Linked DNA regions of Homo sapiens: all the other regions are linked to region 3. The links are contacts of gene promoters, found by promoter capture Hi-C in blood cells and fetal thymus (Javierre and others, 2016). All regions are on one chromosome and are shown on one strand. Each heading gives the region's core, a stretch centred on a gene start or on the middle of the fragment in contact. The rest is flanking DNA. Distances are from core to core; before and after follow the strand shown. Region 1 overlaps KATNIP (katanin interacting protein). Region 2 overlaps KATNIP (katanin interacting protein). Region 3 holds the start of GSG1L (GSG1 like). Region 4 overlaps KATNIP (katanin interacting protein). Region 5 holds the start of LOC107984874 (a long non-coding RNA gene). Region 6 overlaps KATNIP (katanin interacting protein). Region 7 overlaps KATNIP (katanin interacting protein).

Region 1 (3,230 bases), core at 38-2,537, 350 kb before region 3:
GATATCCGGAACACAGCCACGCCTGGGGAGCTGGGCCGCCTCGTCAACAGGAACTTAGCTGTGAGTGGAAGGGGCACTGGATTGCTTCTTGGCTGTGTATTCCCATGCATTTTCTCTGCCCTTGGTAAATCTGTGTTAAGGGTATGAGTGGAGGGAGGGGAAGAACAACAAAATCTGGCCAGGTACAGAGGCTCACACCTGTAATCCCAGCACTTTGGGAGGCTGAGGCAGGCGGATCATTTGAGGTCAGGAGTTCAAGACCAGCCTGGGCAACAAGGCAAAACCCTGTCTCTACAAAAAACACAAAAAATTAGCCAGGCATCATGGCTTGTGCCTGTAGTCCCAGCTACTTGGAAAGCTGAGGTGGGAGGATCTCCTGAGCCTAAGGAGATTGAGGCTGCAGTGAGCTGTGACTGTACCACTGTACTCCAGTCGGAGCAACAGAGTAAGACCCTGTCTCTAAAAAAAAAAAAAAAATAGGCCGGGTATGGTGGCTCACACCTGTAATCCCAGCACTTTGAGAGGCCGAGGCGAGTGGATCACTTGAAGTCAGGAGTTCAATACCAGCCTGGCCAACATGGTGAAACCCCATCTCTACTAATAATACAAAAATTAGCCAGGCGTGGTGGCACATGCCTGTAATCCCAGCTACTTCTGGAGGCTGAGGCAGGAGAATCACTTGAACCCAGGAGGCAGAGGTTACAGTAAGCCGAGATTGCAGTAAGCCAAGATTGTGCCACTGCATTCCAGCCTGGGTGACAGAATGAGACTCTGTCTCAAAAAAAATAAATAAGATAAAATCTACCAGGGTTATTCATTTGGGCAAAGTTGGGGAGGAACCTGAGGGAGTGGTGCTGGCAGAGGCCCCAGACACTCTCTCCCTAAGCTGTTTCCCAGCCCCTGCTCTGTGGGTTTTTCTTGGGGGAGCCAATTCACCTGCTTTTATCCACCTTGCAGTTTTCCACAGTCACCATCAAACACTGGACCTCAGGGGTCATTAAGGTTAATGGATGTTCTTTGTAGTTGAAGAAACTACAGCTTGGAGAAGGGCATTGACTTGGCCAAGGTCATGCAGCTGGAAGGTAGTGGAGCCAAGTTCATATCGGGCAGCCTGGGCCAGGACCCTTGCCCACACCCCCTCAGGACCCTGCTGCCCTAGGTCGTGAGGTGCACACTCCACAAACGTTGAATGTTTCTTTCCTTTAAATATCCAACAGAGCCAGGTACAGTGGCTGACACCTGTAATCCCAGCGCTTTGGGAGGCCGAGGTGGGCGGATCACCTGAGGCCTGGAGTTCAAGACCAGCCTGGCCAACATGGCGAAATCCTGTCTCTACCAAAAATACAAAAATTAGCCAGGCGTTGGGGCACACACCTGTAGTCCCACCTACTTGAGGCTGAGCCAGGAGAGTCGCTTGAACCTGGGAGGGGAGGTTGCAGTGAGCCAAGATCGTGCCACTACACTCCAGCCTGAACGATGGAGCAGGACTCCGTCTCAACAAATAAACAAACAAACAACAGAATTTACAAAAAAAAGATCGGGGAGGGTACTGGCATTTTTTCCTTCCTGCTACTTGCAAGTTGCACACAAGAGACTGTGAGCTAAACTGAGCCAGAGTAGCAGCCACGTCATCTTTGCTATGTTGGGCCTCAGCTTCATTCACAATTATCTCCTCGGAGACCTGGGAAGATGTTGTTATTGCGTGATCATAGCTCACTGCAGCCTCAAACTCCTGGGCTCAAGCTGTCCTCCTGCCTCAGCCTCCTAAATAGTTGGGACTACAGGCACACAACACCACATCTGGCTAATTTTGTAAAATTTTTTATAGAGACGGGGTCTCACTATGTTACCTGGGATGGTTTCTCTGGCCTCAAGTGATCCTCCCACCTTGGCCTCCCAAAGTGCTGGAATTACGGGCATAAGCCAGCATGCCCAGCCTTTGCTGTTATTGTTATTATTATTAATAGTATTAATACCACTGGGAAAAGTAGTTAGTGTTATTCCCATTTTAAAGAAGAGGAAACAAGAAAAGGGGTTTTTGAAATCTCTGGTTCTAGAGACCCAGATTCTGGTCTTGACTCTGGCCTCAGCAACTTGCCTGCCTTCTCTGAGAGTGGGTTTTTCTGCAAGCTGAAAAATGGGAGATTGGGTCAATCATCTGTTCAGATTCTTAGATTTCCAGCAGCAGAAACTGAGTCCAGCTCAGTTAGCACATGTTTAAAAAGTAAATGTGTTTCAAGTCTTTTGAGTAGCTAGTGTACTCACTGCCACGCAGGCCAGGAGAGGATGGGCCTTGGGGGAAAGTTGGGGTTTTAGGGAGCATCCTGGAATGCTGGCCACCACGGGTGTGGTCTTTTGGGGGTGGGAGATGAACAGGAGGATGTGAGATTCTTCTGGAAAGATTCTTTTCTCAGACTTGAGGTTCTGGGGGAGATCGTGCTGTCCTACTTAGTTGACTGTTTTGGCCTTTGTGTGAGTGGTCACTTCCATGGCATCCGAAACCATCACTAACTTACGTCTTAAACTGGGTCATGACTCAAGGTTGGGGGCTACTTTCAGAGAAGGGAACAAAATGAGAAGGGGAGATGGAGAAAAGGATAAAGCTTCATTCCCTTAGTTCATACAGCAACCATTTATTGAGATGCCTCGGCAGTGTCGGTTAGCTGGTTGGTTTGTCCTCGCAACTCTCTGCTGGAAATAGTCTCAGGAGAGGAATGCTGATGGACCAGACTGAATAGGGCAGGACATCTTGATGCCAGTTCCACCAAGATGCCCCAGCAGGGCAGGAAAAGATTCTCCCTGAAGGTATTCAAGATTGCTTAGAAAAGGTGTAATATATGTCACAAGTAAAAACAAAAATTAAGAAATTCAAGATTGCCACTCAAACGGCGGGCTGGATGCTAGATAGCTAAGAAGCAACAACTGTCCCCAGGGTTGGACTGGGTGGGTCTGAGTCCCCTTCTAGATCAGTAGCTCTGTGATCTCAGCCCTCAAAAGACACAGTCCCTGAGCTGTGGATGATGGCTGCCTGGGTGCTGTGGCCTGGCCTATCCCTGCTTTGCCTCCAGATTCAAGTCTATAGGCTCCCATGCTTGCTGCTGGGACTTGGCCCAGCCTTCGCCACCCCTCCCCTGCCCCACTCTTGCAGAAAGCAGTGGCATTTTGGAAGCCTGCTCTCCAGAACAGAGCACACTAGAGACAATAAAAAGCATCACTGGATTTGATGGGGA
Region 2 (2,888 bases), core at 251-2,750, 500 kb before region 3:
GCCAGATAGCAGCCTCTGGTTTCATGGGGCTTATTTTTAGTTGGGGAGACAGACTACAAACATATTAATAAGAAAATGTCAGTAAGTGCCATGCAGAAGGTTAAGACGGAGGACTGAGGGCTGGGTCCCTCTGGAGAGGTGGGTGGTTTTAAGCTGAAATCTCATTGCTAAGAAGGATCCCTCATAAGACCAAGGGCATGAGTGCTCTTGGCCCAGAGGAGAGAGCTAAGGCCCTGAGGCAGGAAGGAGTCTTGGGTCTACGGAGCAGAAGAGGGATGTGGGACTAGGTGCAGTGGTGCACGCCTGTGGTCCCATCTGTGCAGGAGTCCACTTGGGTGTATCGCTTGAGCCTGGGAGGTCGAGGCTGCAGTGAGCTGTGATCACACCACTGCAGTCCAGCCTGGGCAATAGAGCAAGGTTCCTTCTCTAAATACAAAGAAGAAAGACTGCAGGGAAGAGGGCTGCAGGGAAGAGGGAGGAGAGGTCCAAAATATCCCGTGGGCCAGGCCATGCAGAGCCTGGTCAGAATGAGGCTTGGATTCTTTTCTGCATGCACAGGGAAACATTAGAAGTTCAGGCAGGCAAGTGGTAGGGTCTGGTTTTTATATGGCTGCCATAGGAAAATCCAGGCAAGAGTGGAGGCAGGGATACCTACTAGGTGGCTGTTGAAAAAGTTGGTCACATGCAGTGGCTCATGCCTCTAATCCCAGCACGTTGGGAAGCTGAGATGGGTAGAATTGCTTGAACCCAGGAGTTCGAGACCAGCTAGGCAACATAGTGAGACCTCATCTCTAGTAAATTAAAAAAAAAAAAAAAAAAAAAAAAAAGCTGGCCATGATGGCACATACCTGTGTCCTAGCTACTTAGGAGGCTGAGGCAGGAGGATCACTTGAGCCCAGTAGGTCGAGACTGCAGTGAGCCATGATCATGCCCACTGCACTCCAGCCTGGGCAACAGAGCAAGACCCTGTCTGGAAAAAAGAAAAAAGAAAAAGCCCAGGGGGAGTTGACGGGGCCTGGCTTGGAGAGCGGGATGATAGGAATGAGCAGGTTCCAGATCTATTTGGAAGCCCAAGTTCAGTTGAACTGGCTGAGATCCATGAATAGTCAGCAGTTTATGGGAACTAATAACTGCTAAGTACCTACTGTATGCAGGGCACTGTTCTGAGAGTTTTACATGTAGTGCCTTAACCCTGACAATAGACTTAAATGGAGTCAGGACTAATAGGACTCCCAAATGGGTAATGAGTAGCTAAGAGAGACGGGCTGACCCAGAGCCTCCCCTCTCAGCCGCCACACAGCATTGTCCCCAGGCTCTTACCTAATTATGAAGCTCCCAGAAGAACACATGGCTAAGCATTTCTAAACCAAGCAAATGCGCGTTAACGGTGTGCAGGTTATAAATAAGCATTTCTGTATGCCAGCTGCTGTTTGGGTTTGGAAAGGAAAAGAAGATCTTAGCATGACTTGTTTATCCCAGGTAATTTGGCAGTAAACTGGGCCCCAGAAGTCAAGTTACACAGAAAATGCAAAGGAAAAGTGACAGGGGTATCATATCAGGCTTTCCAAAAAGGAAGGTAACTTAAAGGCCCACATCAGCCTGGAGGCACACGTGGGGAATGAAGGGAAGGGGTGTTGCAGAGCCGGTGTCTGCCTGGCTTGCTTGCTTGCTTGCTTGCTTGCTTGCTTTTTTTTGACGGAGTTTCACTCTTCTTGCCCAAGTTGGAGTAATGGCGCAATCTCAGCTCACTGCAACCTCCGTCTACTGGGTTCAAGCGATTCTCCTGCCTCAGCCTCCATAGTAGCTGGGATTAAAGGCATGCGCCACCACACCCGGCTAATTTTTTGTATTTTTGGTAGAGACAGGGTTTCACCATGTTAGCCAAGCTGGTCTCAACTTCTGACCTCAGGTGTTCCGCCTGCCTCGGCCTCCCAAAGTGCTGGGATTATAGGTGTGAGCCACCACGCCCGGCCCTACCTGGCTTTCAAACAGTCCTGCTCTTTGTCTAATAGATTTCTGTTGTTTTAGTGGGATGTCCTTAAAGAAGTCCCCTCAAAACGGGTCCATGGCATCAAGATAAAGAAATAATAGGAGTCCAGGCGCGGTGGCTCACACCTGTAATCCCAGCATTTTGGGAGGCCGAGGCGGGTGGATCACCTGATGTCAGGAGTTTGAGACCAGCTTGGCCAACATAGTGAAACCCCGTCTCTGTTAAAAATGCAAAAATTAGCTGGGTATGATGTCGTACCCCTGTAATCCCAGCTACTTGGGAGGCTGAGGTGGGAGAATCACTTGAACCTCGGAGGCAGAGGTTGCAGTGAGGCGAGATTGCGCCACTGCACTCCAGCCTGGGCGACAGAGTGAGACTCTGTCTCAAAAAAAAAAAAAAAGGAAAGAAAAGAAATAATGGGAAAGTCAGGCATGCTGCTTCACGCCTGTAATACCAACACTTTGGAAGGCAAAGGTGGGAGATTGCTTTGAATCCAGGAGTTTGAGCCCAGCGTGGGCAACATAGTGAGACCCCTGTCTCTACAAAAGTAAGTTTTAGCCAAGTGTGGTGGCACATACCTATAGTGCCAGCTATTCTGGAGGCTGAGGTGGGAGAATGGCTTGAGCCCAGGAGTTTGAGACTGCAGTGAGCTATGATCACACCACTGCACTCTAGCCGGGACAGCAGAGTGAGATGTCTCATAAAAAAAACAACAAAAAAACAAAAAAAAAAAACAAAGGAAGAGTGGGAAAGTGGGAGATCTGTCTGCCTAGTTATGTACTGAGTTGGAAACTAGAGGCCTGATTTTTTTAGCCTGTACAGAGCCTTAAAATTTTTTAAATTATTAATCATTTAAAAATTAGAAGACTGGATTTATCACTTCTCTGGAAAATCTAAT
Region 3 (2,951 bases), core at 414-2,913:
CACTGAGGAGCTAGGCATGCAGGGAGGAGTTTTAACCTTGGAGAAAGAGGTCAATTCACTCAGGAGGGTGTCCATGCCTGGACACCCGCTCAGAGATACCACGTCTTTCGGGCCAGCTCTACCTGCTGTGTGGCACAACCAGCTGTCCGGCAGCTGTCCCCTGGGCCCTGCCACAGCCCGGCTGTCTGCCTCCAAAACACGCACTCCAGCCCAGGCTGCCTCTGGAGGGTAGAGGAGGGGGTCCAGGCAAAGGGGACAGTCTGATCTGCCTTCTGAAAAGTCAGTCCCCCACCGAACCTAATAGGAGCCTTGTGCTAAGCTAAGCCCTCCTGGACTCCTCGACCCGGAGTTTGCCCAGCTGTCCCCAGTTCCCTAGCCTGCCTCTCCCAGGAGGGGGCCAGGATACAGAGGGCTCCCTGGCGTCTGGCAATAGGGGTGCCTCTGGGCGGGTGCGGCTTTCCGGGAGCCCGCGGGACTCCCCCACTCCCCACTCCCGTCTGGGAGGTTCGGCGTGGGTTGGCGATGGGGGTGGAAGGCTCCCGGGTCTGTGGATCTGCGGCAGGAGGGGCGGCTGGTAGCAGGAGTCCCTGCATCACCCCCACCCCCAGGGGCGTTCCGGGGTGGGTGGGGGCATCTAGTGCCCCGCGAAAGGAAGAGGAGGAGGGGGCGAGCGTGGAGATGAGTTCAGGAGCGGAAAGCAGCGCGCGCCCCTCCGACCGGCAGCGGGGGTGGGCGCCTTCCCGGGGCGCGGGAGCGTCCCCAAAGCCGCGGGGCGTCCGCAGCGGGTAGGAGCTCTGCCTTGCACCTCTCCACGGCGGGGCGTCCCGCACGTCCCCCCATGCTGGTCCCCGGCCCCGGAACGGCGCGCGCCCCCTGCCCCGGAACGTCGCCCCTAGCCAGGCGGAGCGCTGGGAGCTGGGCCCAGGCGGCGGGAGGAGGGCGAACGGGTCCGGGGCTCGGGCCTCGATGGCCGCGCCGCCCCGGGGGAGCCGGAGCCGAGCTGGCCGCCGCCCGCGCGCACTCACCAAGCCCGCTGAGCTCCTCCTCGCACGAGTACCAGATGCCGGTGTGGAAATTCCTGAAGAGGAAGCGGTCGTCGCCGGTCTCCCAGCTGTAGAGCGCGCCGCCAGGGGGGCCGTTCCCCGAGGCGGTGGCGGCGGCGGCGGCGGCGGCGGGGGCGGCGGTGCCGTTGGCCGTGGCGTTGGCGCCCGAGTTGGGGCAGTTGGCGCGCCCGCCCTGGCCGCAGCCCGGCTTGGGGACCCGCTGCGTGCCCTGGCACCAGTGCGTGGTGAGGAAAGCGGTGGTGGCGAACAGCAGCGCCAGCAGGTTCAGGGCCACGGCCAGGAGCGCTCGGCCGCGGCGGCTAGTCTTCATGCCGCCCGCGCCGCCGGGACGGGACTGCACCGCCGGGGAGCTCCGCGCGCGAAGTTGGCAGCTGGCGCCCCGCGTCAGCGGCCGCTGCCCGCCGCGCCCCGGGGCTCGGGTGCCTGAGATCGGCGGCGGCGGACGCGGCGCGGGCCCATGCCCCCCCCAACCCCGGGGTGGGGGCGCGGCGCGGGGGGCGTGCGGGGCGGGCTGGCGGGGCGGGCGGCGGTGGAGGAGCGGCTACGGCGCGCCCGGAGCCCGGAGCGCGAGTGCACCTCGGCTAGGAGCCGCTGGCGCCTGGCAGCGGCCACGGCGCAGGGACGCGCGCCCCTCCGTGGGGAGACACCTGCAGGCGGCCGGCGACACTGTTCCGGAGCCCGCCCGCACGGGGAGAGGGGGCCGCCACGCCGGGCGCGGGCGGGGGCCTGGGAGTGGAGGGACGCCCCCGAAAGAAATCCGAGCCAGGGTGAGGGTCTGAGACGCAAGGAGAATCCCAGGCAAGGCGCTCCTGAGAAAAGATCCCCACGGCGGACGTGGGGCAACAAAACCCGCCGGGAGCGGGCATCTCATGAGACCCAGAGAGGCCCTGCCCCAGGAGACAAGGGCAGAGCCTGCTGGGGCTCCCCAAGAGGGACACGGACCAGCAGGACCCTGTCCCAGAAGGGGATCCCCAAAAGGACCCCCGCACCAGACCCTGAGAAAGGAGTTTTTCCAAAGGTTCTAAACAGCAGAGCCTGCAGGGCTTCCCACAGCCAGGGAGCTGCAAGACCCCCTGGATAAGACAACCCATGCTGGACTTGGAGTGGCAGAATCTGTCAGGAGGCGCCCCTCCTGGAGTATTGGGTTATAGGGTTTGAAACGTTTTTCTGTCTCCTGGGTGTCACCTCCAGCATCTGGGAAGAGCTCCCCTCCAAGGATGAAACTGTCATCTGGGCTCCCAACCATGGCATGCAACTGCAGGAAGAGTGGCAACAGGGTACCCCAGACAGCCCACTGCACCCACCTGAGATCCCAAACAGCAGAACCCTAGGAGGGCCCATGCCGGCCACAAAGTTATTGCAGCTACCAGGCAGTGGTGCCCTACAGGGGCTGCCAACCCTGCTCACATGCACACCATGTGAATGTGGGTAGAATCTTCAAGATTCGGGTGGGGGCAGGGTGGCCAAACATACTGACTTTGGGATCAAGCATATCTAGGGCTTGACCAGCTGTGTGGCTTTGAACAGGTCACTTACCCTCTCTGAGCCTCAATTTCCATAACTATAAAAAAGGGAGGACCCCCCCCCCTTCAAGGTATATCACAGTGGGCTGCTGTAATGAGATCATGGCTGCAAAAAGCATTTGGCACACAGTAGACTCAATTAATAATTCACTGTTACTGACATCTGAACCAAGATCAGTTGACCAAACTCAGACAAACCTCTTCAGGCTCTCCTGTGCAACGTGGAAACTGTGTGCAACCCCGTCCCCACCTCTGCTCTAAGATGACCACGCTCCCTGAACTCCCTTCGCGCTGCACAGCACTTACTGCCCAGATGCTCAGGGCGTGCAACAATTAATTGCATGTTGATTATAAGAGCTCATTT
Region 4 (2,803 bases), core at 289-2,788, 480 kb before region 3:
ACATGGCAAAACCCTGTCTCTACTAAAAATACAAAAACTAGCTGTGTGTGTTGGTGGGTGCCTGTAATCCCAGCTACTCAGGAGGCTGAGGCAGGAGAATCGCATGAACCCATGAGGCGGAGGTTGCAGTGAGCCAAGATTGTGCCACCACACTCCAGCTTGGGCGACAAGAGCGAAATTCCATCTCAAAAAAAAAAAAATCATGTTGACATCTGTTGTCTTGTTGACTCTTCACAATGCCCTATAAGGCAAGGAATATTATCCTTATCTTACATGAGAGGAAGTCTAGGCTCAGAGCGGTGAGACAGCCTGCCCTGGGTAACACAGCAAGTACAGGGCTCAGCTGATAGCCTGTGTTATGTGCACCCTGGCAAAGTGGCAAGAACATGCCACTCCCCCTCCTCCCTGTAGGCCCTTGCTACTGGTTTACAGCCAGACAGGAGGACCCCAAACTCCTGTGACCACAGGGCTGGGCAGAGGCAATGACTGCCAGGTAAATGTGAGACTCAGTTTCCTCATCTGGCAAGGGGAGCTGGTCTGATACTTACCTCCCCAAACTCAATGCAATTAACTACAGCCAGATTCCAGTTAGAAGCCACTAGACACAAATCAAAACTACAATGAGATATCATCTCATCCCAGTTAAAATGGCTTTTATTCAAAAGACAGGCAAAAACAAATACTGGCGAGGATACAGAGAAAAGGGAATCCTTGTACATGTTTGTTGGGAATGTAAATTAGTATGATCACTATGGAGAACAGTTTGGAGATTCCTCAAAAAATAGCTACCATACGATCCAGCAATTCCGCTCCTAAATGTATACACAGAAGAAAGGAAGTGGGTATATCGAAGGGATTTTTCCACTCCCATGTTTCTTGCAGCACTGTTCATAATAGCCAAGACTTGGAAGCAACCTCAGTGTCCAACAGACACACGTATAAAGAGAATGTGGTACACACACACAATGGAGTCCTGTGCAGCCAGAAAAAAGAATGAGATCCTGTCATTTGCAACAACATGGGTGGAACTGGAGGTTATTATGTTTAGTAAAATAAGCCAGGCACAGAAAGACAAACTTCACATGTTCTCACTTATTTATGGGAGCTAAAAATTAAACTCATGGACATAGAGAATAGACGGATGGGTCCCAGAGGCTACGGAGGGTGGCAGGAGAAGTGAGGATGGTTAATGGGCACAAAAAAAGTAGAAAGAATGGCTGGGTGCAGTGGCTCACACCTGTAATCCCAGCACTTTGGGAGGCCGAGGCAGGCGGATCACTTGAGGTCAGGAGTTCCAGATCAGCCCAGGCAACATGGTGAAACCCTGTCTCTACTGAAAATACAAAATTAGGCGGGCGTGGTGGCACACACCTGTAGTCCCAGCTACTGGGGAGGCTGAAGCAGGAGAATCACTTAAACCAGGAAACAGAGGTTGCAGTGAGCCGAGATCATGCCAATGCACTCCAGCCTGGGCGATAAGAGGGAGACTCTGTCTCAAAAAAATAATAATAATAACTAAAAGAATATACTTGGGTTGTTTATAAACACAAAGGATAAATGCTTGAGGGGATGGATACCCCTTTTACCCTGATGTGCTTATTATGCATTGTATCCCTGTATAAAAACATCTCATGTAACTCATAAATATATACACCCATTATGTACCCACAAAAATTAAAAATAAAAATAAATTAAGAATTTCTTAAAAAGAAGCTACTGAAGGCCAGATGTGGTGGCTCATGCTTGCAATCCTAGCATTTTGGGAGGCTTAGGCAGGAGGATCACTTGAGCCCAGGAGTTTGAGGCCAGCCTGGCAACATAGTGAGACCCTGCCTCAAAAAAAAATTACAATTAAAAATAATTACCAATAAAAAAAAGAAGCAAGTGAACTGTGCCTTCCTCCCCACCACCACTATATAATTCAAAACAAAAACTGAAATAAGGTCAGATGCAGTGGCTCACAACTGTAATCCCAGCACTTTGGGAGGCCAAGGCAGGAGGATCACTTGAGCCCAGGAGTTCGAGACCAGCCTGGGCAACATGGCAAAACCCCGTATCTACTAAAAATACAAAAATGAGCCAGGCACAGTGTTGCATGCCTGTAGTCCCAGCTACTTGGGAGGCCGAGGTCGGAGGATCACCTGAGCCCGGGAGATTGAGTGTGCAATAAGCCAAGATCGCGCCACTGCACTCCAGCCTGGGTGACAAAGTGAGACCCTGTCTCAAAAAAAAAAAAACAAAAAAACAAAAAACAGAAACTGAAATAAGTATAAGGAAGTTCAATAAAATTCTGGACTTTTCCAACTTCTTCTTCTTTTTTTTTTTTTTTAATATAGAAACCTAAACTCTTTAAAAAATACATTGTTTGGGCCACTCGTGCTTTATTGAAGTCCTGGGAGATGGCTTGGCACTGAGGTGGAACGGTCCCGGGCAGGCAAGGCAGGAGGCTGGGGCAGACAGCCTGGGTTCACATCCTGGCTCTACTACTAGCTGTGTAGTTTTCAGCAATTACCTAACCTCTCTGCGCGTCAGTTTCCTCAGCTGCAGAATGGAGCTGAAAATAGAGTACCTCCTCCTGGAGTTGTTGAGAGAATTAAAAGACTAATACATGTGAAGCACTTAGAACCATATCTGTAAGGGCTGTTTAAGTGTTTGCTGTTTATTATTCATTGAGTCCCTCTGTCAGATCCTGTCCACACCGTGTTCCATCAGCTGGAGTAGCTGGGGTTGGGGTAGGGAGGCAGGGTTGGTGTAGTTTACACCTGCAGATAGCCAGGCCAGTGGGCCCTGCATTCGACATTTA
Region 5 (3,235 bases), core at 256-2,755, 390 kb before region 3:
GGACACAATTCAGCTAAGATTCTACTGCTACATAACAGGATTCCCTGGGCTCCAGTTTTCAATTACATGTTCATTTCCTGAGTCCTCACCAGTGGTGCCTGTAACATCTATATTTCTATCATCGGTCTGTATAGGATGATTTCTCTAAGATGGTAAAAGTGTTCTATACACTCAAGGTGTTCCTCACTTCCTCCTGAGCCCTCAGGAGTTCACAGGTTCTAGGGATTAGGATGTGGACATCTTTGGGGAGCCCTTATTCAGCCTACTGCAATAACTATTAGGTTTATTGGTCAATTATCAAAGCTTTATTGATTGCTTCCCATTTTCTTAGAACTACATTGGATACTATATAGGCTACAAGGGGTAGTATAGCTAGGCTGACCAAACATACTGGTTTGCCCAAACAGTCCCATCTATATATATGTGTGCATGTGTGTGTGTGTGTGTGTGTATCTCCAGGCTAGAGTACAGTGGCAATCATAGCTCACTGCAGCCTCAACTTCCCAGGCTCAGGTGATCCTCCCACCTCAACCTCCCGAGTAGCTGGGACTACAGGCATGCATCACCATACTCAGCTAATTTTTGTTTATTTTTTGTAGAGACAGGGTCTCACTGTGTTGCCCAGGCTGGTCTTGAACTCCTGTTCTCAACCAGTCCTTTTGCCTCGGCCTCCCAAAGTGATGGGATTACAAACATGAGCCACTGTCCCAGCTCCGTTTATACTTTTTGTCCCAGTGTAAATATAGTAGTGCTCGCTTTCTCTCTGAAATGTCTTGGTTTGGGTGATTCATGTCCTGGTCACTCTAAATATAGATCTTAATGCTTAGCCATAAGGAATCTACAATTTCATGTAGACAAAAGAAACATGAAAAAAATCTTGAAGCAGTTGTAGTTAAGTGCTAAATAGTATGACATTTAGATGCCGCTCAACACCCTGCAATATGCAGGTCAGCCCCTAACAACTACCTGACAGACATTTTACCATCTGGAAGTTTAGGGTCATTTGGAGGCCTTTGGGAGTTCATATTTCAAAGTGTGGTCCCTGGACCAGCAGTGTCAGGATCACCTTATTAGAAATGTAAATCCTCAGGCCCCATCCCAGACCCACTGAATCAGTGGGTGGGACTCCACAATCTGTTTGAACAAGCCCCAGATTTTAACAAACCATATTGTCTGTTTCTCTCTCCCTCTCCTTCACATGTGCACTCCCCCCCACCCCACCTTCCCCCGGCATCTCCGGGATACAAACACCACAGTTAATATTAACAACATTGCTCTGTCCAGGGAGTTACTCATTTTCCCCTGCCCTTTGTTTTCTCGTCTTCAAAGCAGTGACATCACAAGGGTTGAGATAATATTGTTAAATGTTAGTTTGGGGAGAATAATTCTTTGGTTCAAATGATCTATTTTCAAATAAGTTTTTCTCAAGGTACCATATTTATCTCTCATCTCTCTTCTGGGCTTTTTGCAGGAGCTGAGAAGAAGCCTGGAACTTAGTGTAAATCTACAAAGGAAACAAAAGGATTGTTCCAGCGATGAGTATGACTCTATTGAGGAAGACATACTCTCTGAGCCTGAGCCAGAGGACCCGGCACTGGTGGGCCATCCCAGACATGACCGCCCTCCTTCCAGTGGCGACTGGACTCAGAAAGATGTTCACGGGGAACAGGAGACAGAAGGACGCTCTTCTCCAGGCCCAGACACCCTCGTGGTGCTGGAATTTAACCCAGCTTCCAAAAGTGAGCTCTGTCTTGTATATCATTTCTTTGCCATTGGTGTCTCTGCATCTAATAGCAGGACTTAAACTTCCAGTGGTCCTTTGAGTTCCTCTTTGGGTAGAGTGTCTCACAGGCCAGGGAGGTATATCAGTCAGGTCTCTGTTGATTGCAAGACGCAGAGCTTCCCAAAGGCTTCCTCAGGGCCCTGAAATTCCAGATGGTAAATTCCTGGCAGATAGTTGGAGGTGTCTGTTCTGTACACTGTAAGATGTTTTGCAGCATCTACATACCAGTTGGCTAATACAGACTAGCTTAAGCTAAGGGACTATTTATTGACTTGAGTAACTGAAAGGTTCTGAGATGTAGCAAGACTCATTTTCTCCCCTCTCCCTCTTCGTCTTCTTTTCCCTCTCCGTCTCCATCTCTCTCCCATCTCCCCTCTTCCCTCTCCTTTTCCCTTCTGGCCTCTTCCCTCTGTCTTCTCCCATCTCCCTCTCCCTCTTGCTCTCCTCCTTCTCTGCTTTCCTGTGTCTTGCTTCCATTCTTAGTAGACTATCCAACATACAAAGGCAGAATTGCCTTTAAATAAGACACTGACTTTGCAACCCCTCAGAAAGTGAATTTTTCTTTCCCAAAAGGCCCAGCAAAAGTCCCAGACCTGGTTCTCCAACCCACACGGGGTCACATGCTGTCTTGGATTGGATCACCGTGGCTCTGATGGGCCAGGTCCAGCCAATAGGACTAAGGGGTGTGGTTATCACCACCCAGCCACACGATAGTGCGGTAAAGCTCTCATCTCCAAAAGAAACTCAAGGTGAACCTGAAGGAGGGAGGATGCTGGCACGCAGAGACAGCAGTGTCCAATGGAGGAAGTTTGTCAAGAAAGATCTTGGAAAGTAGAACGAGCAAAACGATTGGTGAGGGGCAGGGAGGAGAGAGAAGGACTTGATGGGGAGAGGCCTACTTGCAACAGTCTTCATCCTCTGTTCCTAAGCTTTGACTCGGGCTGGCCTGGCCTCTGCCTGCACCTCTGTATCCTATTCATGTGCACCGTCAAAGCTGGGTGTGCCAAGAGAAGACAAACTTTTCTGAACCATGATGAACCTAAGGAAAGAGAAATGAGGGAATGTTTGGAATCAGACAGTGTGTCAGTTTGCGAGGGTTGTCATGACAAAGTACCACAGACTGGGTGGCTTAAACAGCAGGAATTTACTCTCTCATAGTTCTGGAGACTGGAAGCCTGAGATCAAGAGTCAGTTTCTTCTGAGGCCTTTTCCTTCTTTGTGGCTTGTAGACAGCCATCTTCTCCCTGTGTCTTCCTGTGGTCTTCCCTCTGTGTGTGTCTGTGTCCTAATCTCCTCTTCTTAGGAGAAGTTATATTGGATTAGGGCCCACCTATATGACCTTGTTTTTAGTTAATTACCTCTTTAAAGACCTTGTGCCCAAATACAGTCAGGGGTACTGGCGGCTAGGATTTCAATGTATGAGTTTGGAGGGGGCCAGGCACAGTGGCTCAT
Region 6 (3,036 bases), core at 192-2,691, 440 kb before region 3:
GGCACATCACATGTTGAGAGCAGGAGAGAGAGGGTGGGGGGGAGGTGCCACACACTTGTAAATGGCCAGATCTTGGGAGAACTCACTATCGCAAGGACAACATCAAGGGGATGCTGCTAAACCATTCATGAGAACTCTGCCCCCATGATTCAGTCACCTCCCACCAGGTCCTACCTCGACACTAGGGATTACAATCCAGCATGAGATTTAGAGGGGTCATACATCCTAACTATATACAAGCCAATCACTCCCTGTGTCTGGTGAGATGGCGCAGTCTACTGGCCGTTCCTTGGCCACCCCACTACATTGTGCAGTGGAGTCAGTTTCACCCGGTGGAGTCAGTTTCATGGAGTCAAAGAAGGAATGGTGCTGTACCCAGTGGAGATCTGAGGGGCTCTGTTTGGAAGATGGGGGAGATTCCTGGCCAGGCAGAGAGAGCAGGTGTCCACCACACAGCTCTTACCCTTGAAGAACTCCCCAGTAGTGGCAGGGTGAGCGCAAGGCCACCTATAACTATGACAAAAGAAGCAGAAAGTGATTGTGTGCTCCAGGAGAAGACTGGGGGCAGGGAGTAGGGGGACAGAGTCTGGAGATGTGACAGCCTTGCCTCACTCCTGCAGAAACCCTGCCAGCTGCCTGTCCCAGTGGACTCTGAGTGATTCTTGTCACTCAACCTCATGAAAGAGGTAATCATGCCCGACAAGATTCATAAAAGGGCAGGCGGAGTGATCAAAGGGCTGAGTGATGAAGATCGACTGAGAAGATGAGGGCCCTTGTATCTGAAGAGGTGACAGCAGAGAGGGGCTGTAATATACACCTCTAGACTGCAGGGGGTAGACCCAGATTTGCTCTCCAGGTCCAAGAATCCAGCAATGCTGTGATCATTTGGTCCTTGAGAAAGGTCATTCAAGGGAAACTTACAGGAAAACTTGCCCACAAAAGTGCTGGGCCTGCAGCCCCAGGAGAAGATCCAGGCAGAAAGAAGGAAGGAGAGAACCAGCATCACTGGGGGCCTCACCTGGACCTTTGTCTGAGCCAGCGCTTTAACCCAGTCTATCCTTTTGTCCTCATGGCAGCCCAGGGAGGTGCCGGCATCTTTAGTCTCCTGTTACAGAAGAGGAAACAGACCCCAGGGAGGTTTAGGAACTTGCTCAAGGTCATGCAAGCTGGGGAAATGGTGGAGTCTCTGGCAATGAGCTCCGTCCTCCACACTCACCTCCTCCACCTGCACAGATGCTCTTATGTGCAGCTCTGTGGAGCATCCTAGGTGACCTACAGGTTCTGGGGAGGAATGGCAGGCTTCTTTTTACACCCCTGCCCTCCCTGTCTTCACCCTTCAAGACTGGACTCAAATGCCACCCCCTCCAAGGAGCCCCCAGTTGCGAGCCAGTGCTCTCTCCTCTGACCTCTTCTTGCTCAGAGCCTCTGTGATGCCTGGTGCTAGAGGCAAGAAACAGCAGGAAGGAGCAGGGGAGAGCACAAGCACTGCAGCCCCACGGGCCAGAACTCAAATCCAGGTTGGAGGTTTCCTTGGCTCTCTGGCCTTGGGCAAGTTCATTTCTAAAACAGGCCAACAGAACCTCAGTCCCAGGATCACTGAAGGGTGAAGTGAGACAAGGCCCTTGAAGGCCCATAGCAAGCCCCCTACCCAACCCAGTATTCATCATCATTATCATCATCATCATTATCATCATTCAGTTATTGACTGATTGATTGATTGATTGATTGAGATGGGGGTCTCACTCTGTTGCCTAGGTTGGAGTGCATTGGTGTGATCATAGCTCACTGCACTCTCCAACCCCTGGACTCAAGCGATCCTCTTGCCTCAGATTCCCTAGTAGCTGGGCCTACATGTGCGGGCCACCACATCCAGCTAATTTTTTTAATGTTTATTATTATTATCATCCTTTCGATATAAATGCCTTCTCCCCAAATTGACATCCAGGTAATTCTTGAATGGCTGATCCTTGGGGAAACCCCTCAGGCGACCTGAGATGACCGAGATCTGGAGGAACCATGTGGTTCATCTATAGTGCCATGGCAGCCACACCACTCAGAGACCACTCAGTCATAAGCCTAGTCACAATTAAGCCGCTGCCCTCTGAGAACACAGTGACCTGCCCTTTGTGTTCAAAGGGCCCTTGTGTTCAAAGGGTCCTCATTGCCAGAGGCTCTGCCATTTCCCCAGCTTGCATGACCTTGAGCAAGTCCCTAAACCTCCCTGGGGTCTGTTTCCTCTTCTGTAACAGGAGACTAAAGATGCCGGCACCTCCCTGGGCTGCCATGAGGACAAAAGGATAGACTGGGTTAAAGCTCTGGCTCAGACAAAGGTCCAGGTGAGGCCCCCAGTGATGCTGGTTCTCTCCTTCCTTCTTTCTGCCTGGATCTTCTCCTGGGGCTGCAGGCCCAGCACTTTTGTGGGCAAGTTTTCCTGTAAGTTTCCCTTTGAAACTTTGTGTTCAAAGGGCCCTTGTGTTCACTGGGTCCTCCTTGCCATCTAGGTCCCTGCCCCGGTGGCCCACGAGGAGGAGACTCCTCCCCGAACCACCCCAGCCCCAGCCATGTCAGGTCCCTAGACTGCCTCATCACACCCTGTACTCCCCACTCACTCCTTCACTTCCTCATCTGTGCAGGTGATCCCAAAGGCCAACATGGGCATAAAATGGAAATGATGGGTGTGGTGTGCATCACGTGAATAGTAGCTGTGAGCACTAGGGTATTCATCCATGTCTCCTGCCCCAACTTGAGATCCTTGGGGTCACTTGTTCCAGAAACAGGCATTGAGGCCAGACGCAGTGGCTCATGCCTGTAATCCCAGGACTTTGGGAAGCCAAGGTGGGTGGATCCACTGAGCCTAGGAGTTTGAGACCAGCCTGGACAACACAGGGAGACCCTGTCTCTACAAAAAAAAAATACAAAAATTAGCCGGGTGTGGTGGCACGCACCTGTAGTCCCTGCTACTCGAGAGGCTGAGGTGGGAGGATTGCTTGAGCCCAGGAGATCAAGGCTGCAGTGAGCTGTGATCACACCACTACA
Region 7 (3,199 bases), core at 309-2,808, 400 kb before region 3:
GGGCTCAGATTCGTGACTAGAAGGGCCAGCTTCAGCTCACAGATGTGTTCTGTTGGCCGGTTTGGTGGCACGCCATGGTTATCATTGTTGCTGTTTGACTTGGACTTAGAAAACTTTTCTTCTGAGCATGCACCCCCAGTTTGGCCTGGTCCCCACTACCTATTGTACAACACTGTGGTTTATTTGATAGTTTATATAACATTACGCCTCCTGAGGATGTCGGAGTTTGCGAGTCTTGTTTTAGGGAGGAGAAATACCAAGTGACAGATTCCGCAAGCCTGGGAAGGTAGCTTGGGTTTTTCCATAAACATTCTGGGGCCTTGGCTAAGTCATACTCCTCTGGGGCCCCCATTTCCTCCTTTAACAAGAAGCGGTGAATTAAATATCTCCTGCACCTGCCAGCTCTGAAATCGTAAATCCTAGGTATGGTTTATAAGAAAATCTTATTCCCATATTACAAAATCCGTGGATTGGCCGGCAGTGGCTCACGCCTGTTATCCCAGCATTTTGGGAGGCCAAGGTGGGCGGATCACCTGAGGTCAGGAGTTTGAGACCAGCCTGGCCAACATGGTGAAACCCCGTCTCTATTAAAAATACAAAAATTAACCAGGCATGGTGGCGCATGCCTGTAATCCCAGCTACTCAGGAGGCTGAGACAGGAGAATCACTTGAACCCGGGAGGTGGAGGTTGCAGTGAGCCGAGATGGCACCACTGCACTCCAGCCTGGGCAACAGAGCAAGACTCCATCTCAAACAGAACAAAACAACAACAACAACAAATCCATCGATGGGAGTAGACGATACATAATAGTTTGTGGAGCTCTGGCTCATATCAGTACTTTTTTTTTTTTTTTTAAGAGATGGGGTCTCACTACATTGCCCAGGCTATAATGCAGTGGCTATTCACAGGTGCAATTATAGTGCACTACAGCCTCAAACACCTGGCCCCAAGCCATCCCCCTCAAGTAGCTCAGGATACAGGCACACACCACCGCATCCAGCTATTGCTCTAGGTCTTTTGCAAGTTCAGTATTTAGGGCCTCAAACACCTTCCCCCATCCCAGATCTAAGCTTCATGATAGCAGAATGTGCTCCGTCTCATTGCCTGCTGTGTCTCTTGTCCCTAGAAAAGTGCCTGGCATAGAGTTGGTCTGCAAATAAATCTTCATTGAGCAAGTGGATTGAATGATTGAATCAATGAGTGAGTGGTATAGCTGTTGATTAGGCACCCTGACCAGCCCACACAAGGGACTTCAGTCATCACATCACTGAGTTATGATTACAGTGAGTGTTTTCCAAACTGTGAATCAGGACACATAATCTAACAAGGAATTTTTGTGTTGCTTGGGGTAGAAGAGTCAGTTTGAGATATGTAGTTTGGATCCTGAAATATTGGGATTTCTGGCACATGTTCTTAATGTGAGAGAATATTTTAAATCACCTGAGTGAGGCAGGTGGGTCAGTCAGGGCATGCAGGGAATGGTGGGGATAGTAGCAGACAATCACAGTGGACTGTCATCGTGTAGAAATATGGGCCTAGTGGTGCCAGGCTTTTTAGGTTTAAGAGAAGCCAGGTATCTGGGTTTCTGGGTTTCTTTCTTTTCTTTTTTTTGAAACAGAGTCTCACTCTGTCGCCCAGGCTGGAGTGCAATGGCATGGTCTCGGCTCACTGCAACCTCCGCCTCCCGGGTTAATGCGATTCTCCTGCCTCAGCCTCCCAAGTAGCTGGGACTACAGGCGTACACCACCATGCCCAGCTAATTTTTGTATTTTTAGTAGAGACGGGGGTTTCACCATGTTGGCCAGGCTGGTCTCGAACTCCTGACCTCAGGTGATCCACCCACCTAGGCCTCCCAAAGTGCTGGGATTACAGGCGTGAGCCACTGCGCCCGGCCTGGGTTTCTTTATGTTTGATTTCCCCCAATTATTTCTATGTTGGCAACTAATTTATAGTTTGTTTGTTTTTCAGACAGGGTATTGCCCTGTCACCTAGGCTGGAGTGCAGTGGCGTAATCATAGCTCACTGCAGCCTCAACCTCCTGAGCTCAAGCTTTCCTACTACCTCAGCCTCCCAGGTAGCTGGGATTACAGGCACAAGCCACTGTGCCTGGCTAATATATATATATATATATATATATATATATATATATATATATATACACATACATATATATATATATATATATATACACATACATATATATATATATATATATATACACATACATATATATATATATATATACACATACATATATATATATATATATATATACACACATATATATATACACATACATATATATATATATATATAGTATAAATGGGGTTTCACTGTGTTGCCCTGGCTGGTCTTGAACTCCTGAGCTCAAGCAGTCCGCCTGCGTAGGCCTCCCAAAGCATTGGGATTACAGGCATGAGCCACCATGCCCAGCCTAATTCACAATTTCCTGTGGACCAAACAAAATATACCTGCTGGCCAGATGTGGCCTTTAGACTACCAACTTGCAACTTCTGGTTTAGATAATGAAAGCTTTGTCAGTTCCTGATGAGACAGGAGGAAGAGCTCTTTCTCCTTGACAGTGGCTCTTGACCTAGCCCGTCTGTTACCCAGAAACATCAAAGGCCCCCAGGGATGACCAACTGGACAGCTCAGACCAAAAGACGGCTGGCTTGTGGCATTAGAAAGGGCCCTGGGCAGGTGGGTCAGACAGCACAGGGCAAGCTGAGCAGGAATAATTTGGTGATGAGCATGAATGATGTGAAATGATGCTGAACAAGCACTAAATGCCCATGAATTACAGGTCCAGAAGTAAGAGATGTAGTGATCCCATCCCTCAGTAGGGTGTTTCTACAAATGAAGGTGCCAGATGAATTGAACTTAATAAAGCATATTTTTCAATCTTAATGAAAATAAAGATTAACTTCTGAATCAATATTAGAATAACTTTAATATCTTGCATTTATAGCCGACCTAGAATTTCTTAGGTATGATGTGAAACAATTTTTACATTATTTTGTATCATTTTATCTAACACCTAATACATGGGTGCCTTCTCATTTAAAAAGATTCAAACAGTTTAGAAGTAAGTTGAGTATAATATGAAAAGCTGTCTATATCTACCCAGCCAAACCATCTCCAGCTTTTACTTTTATTGAGCAAGTATACGTTATTTATTTAGTCATCCATTCATTCATT

What was found. The method cuts DNA at HindIII sites, captures the fragments that hold promoters and counts their contacts. A CHiCAGO score of 5 or more calls a contact.
Region 1: a fragment that was not itself captured here is called in contact with the fragment with the promoter of GSG1L in region 3 in 5 of 17 cell types (M1 macrophages, megakaryocytes, erythroblasts and 2 more); the score reaches 9.0 in M1 macrophages.
Region 2: a contact is called between a fragment that was not itself captured here and the fragment with the promoter of GSG1L in region 3, in 3 of 17 cell types (M1 macrophages, M0 macrophages and megakaryocytes). The highest score is 8.8, in M1 macrophages.
Region 4: a fragment that was not itself captured here is called in contact with the fragment with the promoter of GSG1L in region 3 in 6 of 17 cell types (M1 macrophages, megakaryocytes, M2 macrophages and 3 more); the score reaches 13.2 in M1 macrophages.
Region 5: a contact is called between a fragment that was not itself captured here and the fragment with the promoter of GSG1L in region 3, in 7 of 17 cell types (megakaryocytes, M1 macrophages, M0 macrophages and 4 more). The highest score is 15.7, in megakaryocytes.
Region 6: a fragment that was not itself captured here is called in contact with the fragment with the promoter of GSG1L in region 3 in 6 of 17 cell types (M0 macrophages, M1 macrophages, megakaryocytes and 3 more); the score reaches 17.8 in M0 macrophages.
Region 7: a fragment that was not itself captured here is called in contact with the fragment with the promoter of GSG1L in region 3 in 6 of 17 cell types (M0 macrophages, endothelial precursors, megakaryocytes and 3 more); the score reaches 9.2 in M0 macrophages.

Annotation. Positions count from the first base shown.
Region 1 is chr16:27,708,861-27,712,090 of GRCh38, forward strand. It overlaps KATNIP (katanin interacting protein), which reads left to right. Exons shown (of 28, transcript NM_015202.5): 13 at 1-60. LOC100128079 (a long non-coding RNA gene) reads right to left here. Exons shown (of 3, transcript NR_147898.1): 3 at 1-58. Among named protein-coding and RNA genes, the nearest start is that of KATNIP, 160 kb to the left of the region's middle. The HindIII fragment of the contact is 2,627 bases long and covers 1-2,601 here.
Region 2 is chr16:27,563,091-27,565,978 of GRCh38, forward strand. The region is part of intron 1 of KATNIP (katanin interacting protein); the gene reads left to right. Among named protein-coding and RNA genes, the nearest start is that of KATNIP, 14 kb to the left of the region's middle. The HindIII fragment of the contact is 7,230 bases long and covers 1-2,888 here.
Region 3 is chr16:28,062,051-28,065,001 of GRCh38, forward strand. It overlaps GSG1L (GSG1 like), which reads right to left and starts at 1,664. Exons shown (of 7, transcript NM_001109763.2): 1 at 1,026-1,664. The coding sequence starts at 1,374. The HindIII fragment of the contact is 8,058 bases long and covers 1-2,951 here.
Region 4 is chr16:27,584,605-27,587,407 of GRCh38, forward strand. All of the region lies in intron 2 of KATNIP (katanin interacting protein), which reads left to right. Among named protein-coding and RNA genes, the nearest start is that of KATNIP, 36 kb to the left of the region's middle. The HindIII fragment of the contact is 4,356 bases long and covers 1-2,803 here.
Region 5 is chr16:27,676,258-27,679,492 of GRCh38, forward strand. It overlaps KATNIP (katanin interacting protein), which reads left to right. Exons shown (of 28, transcript NM_015202.5): 7 at 1,472-1,739. It overlaps LOC107984874 (a long non-coding RNA gene), which reads right to left and starts at 2,958. Exons shown (of 3, transcript XR_001752113.3): 1 at 2,683-2,958. The HindIII fragment of the contact is 2,409 bases long and covers 302-2,710 here.
Region 6 is chr16:27,621,750-27,624,785 of GRCh38, forward strand. All of the region lies in intron 3 of KATNIP (katanin interacting protein), which reads left to right. Among named protein-coding and RNA genes, the nearest start is that of KATNIP, 73 kb to the left of the region's middle. The HindIII fragment of the contact is 8,406 bases long and covers 1-3,036 here.
Region 7 is chr16:27,659,798-27,662,996 of GRCh38, forward strand. All of the region lies in intron 6 of KATNIP (katanin interacting protein), which reads left to right. LOC107984874 (a long non-coding RNA gene) reads right to left here. Exons shown (of 3, transcript XR_001752113.3): 3 at 2,933-3,199. Among named protein-coding and RNA genes, the nearest start is that of KATNIP, 110 kb to the left of the region's middle. The HindIII fragment of the contact is 979 bases long and covers 1,070-2,048 here.